3 separate regions of the Homo sapiens genome follow, and regions 1 and 2 are each linked to region 3. The links are contacts of gene promoters, found by promoter capture Hi-C in human tissues and cell types (Jung and others, 2019). All regions are on one chromosome and are shown on one strand. The core of a region is centred on a gene start or on the middle of the fragment in contact, and the rest is flanking DNA. Distances in the headings are between cores, read along the strand shown.

Region 1 (3,052 bases), core at 326-2,825, 34 kb before region 3:
AAGCAAGAAAGTAAATGATCACATTTTGTAAAAATGTATCTATTATATGGATAATAGATAAGAAGGAAGAGTGTAGGAAGGGAAGGAGAGAATCAATGGGAACTCATGCCAAAGTCAAGGGGAAAAATAGTGTCTGAATCAGACAATGACAATGATAATGGAGAGGGAGAATGGAATTAAAAACTTTTTGGATATATCCTGGGGAAGGACTTGGTGGTCAATTAGATATAAAGGACAAGGACTACTCAAGGGTAACTCAAGTTTCTTGTCAGGTTGACAGGGTGGAAATGGTGCCATCAGCACAGATTAGTAAGCAACGATGAATCAACAGGTTTGGCAGGAAAAGAATTAACTCAAGCTTTAGCCATGTTGATTGTGAGAGGTCTGGGGGTTGCAGAGCCACCAGGCATTATCAACCAGTGACAATTGCCAAAGGAGTACATGGTAAAATTATTTTTGTAATTATTTAAAAACTTCTCTGCCATTATCTCAAGTATGCCTTTCCTTTTTCCCCCAGAGGAAACCAGAGAGGGGACAAATCTCCCAGACCTGTGGGAGGGAAGAAAAGAGACAACCTGAGCTGGAAGTAACCCTGGGCCAATCCTAAAACCACGTGCAGATCCACGGAGGACTAATGTGGAACTGAATTTTTCTGTGTGTTATTTTAGATTGTATTCTTTTCTAAAATCACAGTACAAAATGTTTTCAAAACTGTAAGTCCCATGCTTTACAAGTTTGTCACATACAGCTAAAAATCGTTGTCAGGGCATAGACATTTGTAGTTCCTAGTTGACCAACACAGAAATAATCAACATATAACAACAATTCTACTAGATACCAATACACAGCAATAAGCCAGCCAGCTCTTTTATAAATGCAACGTAGAAAGCATTAGCAGCAGGCCCACGCTGGGCTTTTATTTTTGGTTGAGCTTAGCTGACCTTAAAATAGATTTGCATTGAGGAAAATGTAAAACTTCCTCAAATATAGTACCACTTAATTCAGCATAAGCCATAGAGGGGAGGGTTGTGTCTCTAGGGAGAATTTTTACATTCTAGTAACTATAAAAGTAAGGTCTAATACTATGCTATTTCTCTAAAATTTTCATATTCTAGTAAAGCTTATGAATGTATCTTTGAGCTTAATACAAATGCCACTAACTGGTGTGCCCCCTCAAAGATGTTCTCAACTCTGCGGTTAGTTTTTTAGCATCTACTCTCAGAGTGATTGTTGTTTCATTTTGATAGCTATCCCCGAAATTTTCTTATGATGCCACTAGATGAATTTAAAAAATATACTGTGACCAAACCATAGATGCTGTGCCCTTGGGGTGCAAGATTGGCAGCAATTAATTGATTAATGGATATATCTTCTCTACCAATGATTTTAGATTTTGTAGTCACAACAGCACAAATACATCATAGTGGGCAAACTTAAATAAATAAATTTTGTCTTCTGGGCCTTTGGTTTCCCCATTCAACCCCTTACCATATTAGGTTCTTTTGTTTCTGGTCCACCTATCAGTACCTGTCTCTGCTCCCTCAACAATATCTATTATTATGTGCCAATTTTCTCAAATTTTATTTCAGTTGTTCTTCCTATCAATCTGTGAAGCAGATATTTTTATTACCCTTTCACTAAGGATAATACTACCAGGGGAAACTGTGGATCCAAGAGGTTAAATAATTTGCCTGAGTATATTAGTCAAGGATCTCCAAAGAAACTATATGCAGTCTGTCATATATCTATATATCTCTCAGAGAGAGAGAGAGAAAGGGAGAGAAATTTATTATGAGGAACTGGCTCATGCTATTAGGAAAGCCAGTCATGTAATTCAGTCCAAGTCTAAAGTCCTGAGAACCAAAATAAGCCAGTGATGTAAATCTCAGTCCAAGGGCAGGAGAAGACCAAAGTCCCAGTTCAAACAAGAAGGCAAGAAGCAAAAAGTGGAAATTCCTCCTTCCTCCACGTTTTGTGATTGGATGATGTCCCTCTACATTGAAGAGGGCAACCTATTTTACTGGGTCCACTAATTCAAACGCTAATTTTATCCAGAAACACCCTCACAGACACACCCAGAAATGTTTAATCTGGGTACTCCATGGCCAGTGAAGTTGACACATAAAATTCACCATCACACTGAGGTAACCGAATTTATTGGAAATTTTATTGAAAAGTAGAAACTTTAAAATCAGGCCTAACCCTAAAACATCAGCCATCACACTTTGCCAATCTCGTATGTTACCTGCCTAGACTCTTCCCAAGGTCTTTAGCTAAAGGAAATCCTTTAGGAAAAAAAAAATGGGATTTCTGGTGTGGAAGAGTCTGGGAGAACTGGACGTTCTCAGAAGATGTAGATTCTTTAGCTATTGGATTTACCAAGACCCCAAAGGACATGTTGGCCTACTTAACAAACAATCATTTAGGCCCTTCGTGTGCTAGACACTGTATGTTCATTGTTATGGCAGAAATAAACATGAAACCAAATTCTGCCTCCTAAGAAGCTTATATTCCTCTGTATTTTTGTCTACCAAATATCACTCAATGGCACGCTATCCTAACAGAAGAATTTGGCTTAGCTGGTGCAGTGGCCCATGCCTGTAATCTCAGCTACTTGGGAGTCTGAGGTGGGGGATCGTTTAAAAAGCCCAAGACTTTGAGTCCAGCCTGGGCCACGTAGCAAAACCATGGCTCTGAAATAACTAAAATAATAAACTGTTCAGTTAATTAAAAAAAAATTTGGCTTAATGAAAGCAGCAACAACCTAACATTTATTAGGTGTAGGTTAGTACATGTCTTATTTGGACCTATCTCAAGTGCGTACACAGTGTATTAAGGACTGCCTTGAATGACAAAAGAAGAGTGTGGATGGAAAAAGGAGCAGTCGGTAATCTATTTTTAAGACCACTAGAGTTCTATGAACCACTTAGATATTATACTGGGCATTGTTTTTGTTTATTACCATCCCTTCCTTGGAGAACCCACCCCTTGCATATGTGGTGAGATTCTCATAGAGCTATTATCACACAGCCCCACCTACTTTGGCCATAGG
Region 2 (2,959 bases), core at 276-2,775, 56 kb before region 3:
AAAAATAAGGAAGAGCTGCATTATCAGTGTGATGTTGCAAGGCACCTATCACATTCCAAGTGTCATTAACTTACATGAGCCTCCCTTTGCGATTCTCTATTGATTGTTTCTGGCACAGAATCCCTGACAAGAAACATTTTGAGGGCTTTACTAGATTTCAGCACCAAAGACCTCAACAGATTAAGTCCTGGCTTGGTGATCTGACGCAATTAAAGGTAAATCTCTTTATGTTGTTAAAGAATTTAGAGAACTAAACAACATTAAATACGTTCATGTTATCCTGGCTTATCTCTCAGGTAATCTTTAAAGGTAGAGAACTGAGACAATGATCTAGGTAATCCACAAGTCACTCTCCCTTTCAGGGAAGGAAATGGGGGTTTTCTTTTTCTTTTTTTTTTTTTTTTGAATTTATAATGTCTATTTTTATTGCTTTAAGATTTAGGATTACTGCCATATTGAAGAAAATGAGAACAAAAACTTTTCAGTCTTTCCAGAAAATTGCCTGGAAGGAGAAAAAGAAGCAATAAGTGAACATGACAAATCAATGAGTCGAGGTGGTCATAGGATGTTCCTATTATTTAAATGTTAAGGCTGGTTTATGTCTTTAGCATTGCCTGATTGTCTTAAAGTCAATTTACCTTAAAAGTCTGCCTCTCAACCAAGGAATAAATAATAATCAAAATGTGTATTTTCATATAGTATGCTTCTTTAAAACATTCATTTTATTTTTCACATTCTCAGTGAGTGAAAAGTAATTGAAACAGGATGTAGGGGGAAGAGCAGTCCTGTCTCATAACTACTCTGAGGCTGTTCCTCATCTGTAATGTCTATGCTGTTAGTTCTGATAGGTGACGGTGTAATGCAGAGATCTGAATAACTTGCCAGCTGCTTTTTGTCACCTGGGTTGCCAAGGAAAAACTGTGATGGAAAGGACAATTAAGGCAAACGTGCATGCTATTATTGCCAGCTGAGGATTTGACCATGTTACCCTGTGTTGGCTGGGCACGGTGGCTCACACCTGTAGTCCCAGTACTTTGGGAGGCCAAGGCAGGCAGATCGCTTGAGACCAGGAGTTCAAGACCAGCCTGGCCAATATGGTGAAATCACATCTCTACTAAAAATACAAAAAAATAGCTGGGCATGGTGGCATGTGCCCATAATCCAGCTATTTGGGAGGCTGAGGCAGGAGAATTGCTTGAACCTGGGAGATGGAGGTTGCATGAGCTGAGATTGTGCTACTGCACTGCAGCCTGGGCAACAGAGCAAGACTTCGACTGAAAAAAAAAATACCCTGTGCTGTATCTTATTGTGGTAAACAGAAGGAACAGAATGAATGTGAGCCTCCAAAGGTCCTTTTCTTGCCTAGCTGAAGGCTTAGATGAGCCCGGTGGCCTCCTTATTTCCTTATTCTTTTTTTTAATTATTATTATACTTTAAGTTTTAGGGTACATGTGCACAATGTGCAGGTTAGTTACATATGTATATATGTGCCATGCTGGTGATGGATTAAAGACTTAAACATTAGACCTAAAACCATAAAAACCCTAGAAGAAAACCTAGGCATTACCATTCAGGACATAGGCATGGGCAAGGACTTCATGTCTAAAACACCAAAAGCAATGGCAACAAAAGCCAAAATTGACAAATGGGATCTAATTAAACTAAAGAGCTTCTGCACAGCAAAAGAAACTACCATCAGAGTGAACAGGCAACCTACAAAATGGGAGAAAATTTTTGCAACCTACTCATCTGACAAAGGGCTAATATCCAGAATCTACAATGAACTCAAACAAATTTACAAGAAAAACACAAACAACCCCATCAAAAAGTGGGCGAAGGACATGAAAAACTTCTCAAAAGAAGACATTTATGCAGCCAAAAAACACATGAAAAAATGCTCACCATCACTGGCCATCAGAGAAATGCAAATCAAAACCACAATGAGATACCATCTCACACCAGTTAGAATGGCAATCATTAAAAAGTCAGGAAACAACAGGTGCTGGAGAGGATGTGGAGAAATAGGAACACTTTTACACTGTTGGTGGGACTGTAAACTAGTTCAACCATTGTGGAAGTCAGTGTGGCAATTCCTCAGGGATCTAGAACTGGAAATATCATGTGAGCCAGCCATCCCATTACTGGGTATATACCCAAAGGACTATAAATCATGCTGCTATAAAGACACATGCGCACGTATGTTTATTGCTGCACTATTCACAATAGCAAAGACTTGGAACCAACCCAAATGTCGAACAATGATAGACTGGATTAAGAAAATGTGGCACATATACACCATGGAATACTATGCAGCCATAAAAAATGATGAGTTCATGTCCTTTGTAGGGACATGGATGAAACTGGAAATCATCATTCTCAGTAAACTATCACAAGAACAAAAAACCAAACACCGCATATTCTCACTCATAGGTGGGAATTGAACAATGAGAACACATGGACACAGGAAGGGGAACATCACACTCTGGGGACTGTTGTGGGGTGGGGGGAGCGGGGAGGGATAGCTTTAGGAGATATACCTAATGCTAAATGACGAGTTAATGGGGGTTTTCATCTACATGATTTCCTTGCTGTTGTCTGCCTGATGAAATCCAGGTTCTCTGGCTGGCCCTTAAGCCATTTAAGTCTTACAGATTTAGGAACTTGTGAACTTCAAGAATTATTTTCTGTTTAAATGTTACTTATTTTCAGAGAAGATTAAATCTATTAAACACCTGTATTAAAACATGATATTTTCTGGCTTTGGTAGGACTTTCCTTCTGACTTTAAGAACAAAATAATAGTAATTCAATATTTGTTAGTAAAATTTAATTTCTACATCATATAACATTAGATTGCCTCCATAAAAATAAGTTATTTAAAAAGCAATTTCACAAGAAATGCTAGCTCAACTCTTTGACAACAATACTATAGCTTTAACTCACTGCTGGATCCCCAGCAC
Region 3 (2,865 bases), core at 192-2,691:
TGGTCTTGATCTCCAGGGCTCAAGAGATTTGCCCACCTCGGTCTCCGAAAGTGTTGGGATTACAGGTGTGAGCCACTGGGCCCAGCCCTCAGTTTATCTGTAAAACAGGACAAAAGTAGTACCTACCTGATGGGGTTCTTCCAAGGATTAAATGAGCTAGTACTTATAAAGCACTTGCTAATGTCTGTTAAATAAATTATATTATCCACACACCAATCCAAGGCGACTATAAGGTAGCAAGAACCACTCCAAGTCACATAAGAAAATGAATTCCTTTCGTTTTAGCTCCTCTCTTTATTTCAGCAGTGCGTTGTCAACAGGGCCACATTATGTTAGCAGATTTGAACTTTATCCGAAAGGTGTTTGTATTTTATTTCAAATTATGAATTCCTGAACATCGGATTATGTACGATTCTGCAGTGCCCTCGGAGGCCCATTAGAGTCTGGAGCTCGAGAAGCATAACAAACTCTGGTCTGATATTTGTAAGGAGCTTGACAGCCAAGGAGCCACTCAGAAACAGTTATTGGTATTGCCAAAAAAAAAAAAAAAAAAGGAAGCTAAGAAGTCACCCTTCTAAATAAATAAATAAATAAATAAATAAATAAAAACCTGAATTGGAGAGCTGCCTGCATTTCACTCTACTGCCTCTGGAAGAAGAGTGTTATCTAAAGTGCTTCCATCATGAATAATGATTGAGAAACTGCTTTTACTCTCCCGACTACTGTACTCCCAGGCAGAAACCCACGGCTGAAGCCCACGATGCCCATGTGTAACTTGGTTATTACACACACGTTTGGAGCCCAGTGTGCAGACCCGCAGCGCAGAGGAGGCGGCGGAACACCCCGGGTTGGTCGGGTTTCCAAGGGCTGACCCGAGCTCCAGCACTTTTTCCGCGCCTGATTTTTCAGGTCATTTTCGAATGGGCTATCTTTGCTTACATTTTGAGCTTGGATCCTCTCCAGAAAGCATTACTACCTTCTAAAAGGAAAAACATCTCGTATTTGCAGACAGTGCTGAGGGAGCAAAGTTCATTTTCTCGGGTAGGAGAAGATGATTCTCTTGCAACACGTGCGGATTGTGACAAAATCTTTCATTAACAAGGGGAGTTTCGGTGAAGTGGAGGTTTGGGGAAAGGCGAGGAAGTCGGTCTGGAGCAAGCAAGCAAAGTGCGGAAGCTGTACTGGGATTCTTCTAGAAAGTGGGGTGGGAAAGGAGCTAGGGAGGGCGTGTGGAGGGACGAGATCTGTGTCAGAACGTGCGTGTGAGCGGATACAAAACCCGAGAGAGGCGTGAGCAGCGCTGTGTTTGCGAGCGGGAGCGAGGGGCGCCGGCTGGGGTGTGTGCTCCTGGTGAGTGACACCGAGGGGAAGGCGGGCGGGTCGGCGGGCGGGGGCAGCCTGCGAGGGGCGGGAGTGTCCCTGCGTGGGGCGGCCGAGCCGGAGTTGTGTCAGTGAAGGAATCCAGTCCGGGGGCCGAGCTGGCTGCGCCCTCCGCTGCAAGCGCCGGCAGCGCGGGGCGAGCTCCGGACGGCGCGCGGCCCAGGCAGCGGCTCCCGCTCGGCCCGCCCTCCGAGCCGCAGGGGCCGCCACCGCCGCGGCGCCTCCCCTGGCGACCGCGCCCCCGGGCCCCGGCTCCGGCCCGGGACGGAGGAGCCGGCGCTCGACACAGAGGTAAGCCCAGGACCCCCTCCACGCCGGGCCGGCTGGGGATGCAGGGCGCGGGCGGACGCGGAGGGGCCTGCGCGGCCGGGACGGAGACTCGGCTGGGCCGAGCATTCCGCAGCCCGGGCCGCCCAGCCTCCGCCGCCTCCCGGAGCGCTGGGTGTGGCCCGCGCTCGGCGCCGAGGCGGGCTGGTGGCGCGGACCGGACGCGAAGGTCGCCGTCCTTCCTTTCTCCAGCCGGCGCGGGCAAGCGGGAGGAGGCGCCGGCTGGGACGCACAGTGGCGCTCCCCGGGCGAGCGTGTGGCCGCCGCGCTCCGACGTGTACCCGCCCGCCCCGGATCTGAATCGCCCGCGGCCGCCGTCCCTCGCCTGCCGTCCTCCCGCGCGGGCGCCCCCGTTCCCTCCCAAGCCGGAAAGAGACCCACCGTCCCCCAGGCTGCTCTCTGGCCCGGAGCCGCAAAGCCCACGTCAGCCGCGACCACCCCGCCCTCGGATCCCAGCCGGGTGCGGGGGCCGCGGCCCCACTGAACCCCGCGCCCCTGGCGCCCAGCGGGAGTGGGATGCGTTGGCGTCCGCGCTGCGCGGGTGGGCTGGGGTGGCCGGAGCAGACGCGGAGCGCCCTGGCCGCGGGACGAAGCGGTCGCGCCGCCGCATTTGGGCGGGGGGACCCCGGAGTCCGCGGGCTGCGGACCCCAGCGGGAGACGGGGTTGTCGTAGGATGCGCTCGCGCTGGACGCCGGCGCACTCTGAATATCATGCTGCCGCACACGCGGGGCTGAAGGGCCGAGTCTTCACCTGCGCGGGGATGCGGCGGAAGCGTCGCGTCTTCGCGAGTGGAGGTTTCGTGTTCCCGCGGGGTTGGTGTGTTTTTGAACTTCACGAGCTTCTCATCCCCCCCGCAATCCTGGTTTTAGCAGATGTCGGGGTTTTGGAGACCTGACACTTTTCGTGAAAGATTCTTTCTGTACGTTTTCTTTTGGCTATATTACAGGGTTTGTAGCTTGAGAACTAGTGAAAACCCTTGAACTTCAAACACAGTCTCATTGCTTATTTTTTGAAATTTAAATATTAAAATATGTACCAGCCCCCTCACAAGCCGACAGACTTTAAGACAAACGACTGTGAAATTTTAGAACCTGTGCAGAGAAAGTGGTTTTATACCAGTACTTGAAATAGTAAGGTCGTGTAACCTTTTTAACATC

Evidence for each region. The method cuts DNA at HindIII sites, captures the fragments that hold promoters and counts their contacts. A contact is called where the count stands out against the background at its distance.
Region 1: a contact is called between a fragment that was not itself captured here and the fragment with the promoter of SPATS2L in region 3, in 4 of the 25 tissues and cell types used here (IMR-90 fibroblasts, liver, mesendoderm cells and 1 more).
Region 2: a contact is called between a fragment that was not itself captured here and the fragment with the promoter of SPATS2L in region 3, in 1 of the 25 tissues and cell types used here (IMR-90 fibroblasts).

Annotation. Positions count from the first base shown.
Region 1 is chr2:200,270,628-200,273,679 of GRCh38, forward strand. No RefSeq gene overlaps it. Among named protein-coding and RNA genes, the nearest start is that of SPATS2L, 35 kb to the right of the region's middle. The HindIII fragment of the contact is 4,614 bases long and covers 1-3,052 here.
Region 2 is chr2:200,249,135-200,252,093 of GRCh38, forward strand. No RefSeq gene overlaps it. Among named protein-coding and RNA genes, the nearest start is that of SPATS2L, 56 kb to the right of the region's middle. The HindIII fragment of the contact is 5,249 bases long and covers 1-2,959 here.
Region 3 is chr2:200,305,252-200,308,116 of GRCh38, forward strand. SPATS2L (spermatogenesis associated serine rich 2 like) reads left to right here and starts at 1,442. Exons shown (of 13, transcript NM_001100423.2): 1 at 1,442-1,671. RefSeq lists an enhancer at 817-916 and silencers at 1,327-2,056, 2,077-2,406. The HindIII fragment of the contact is 4,989 bases long and covers 1-2,865 here.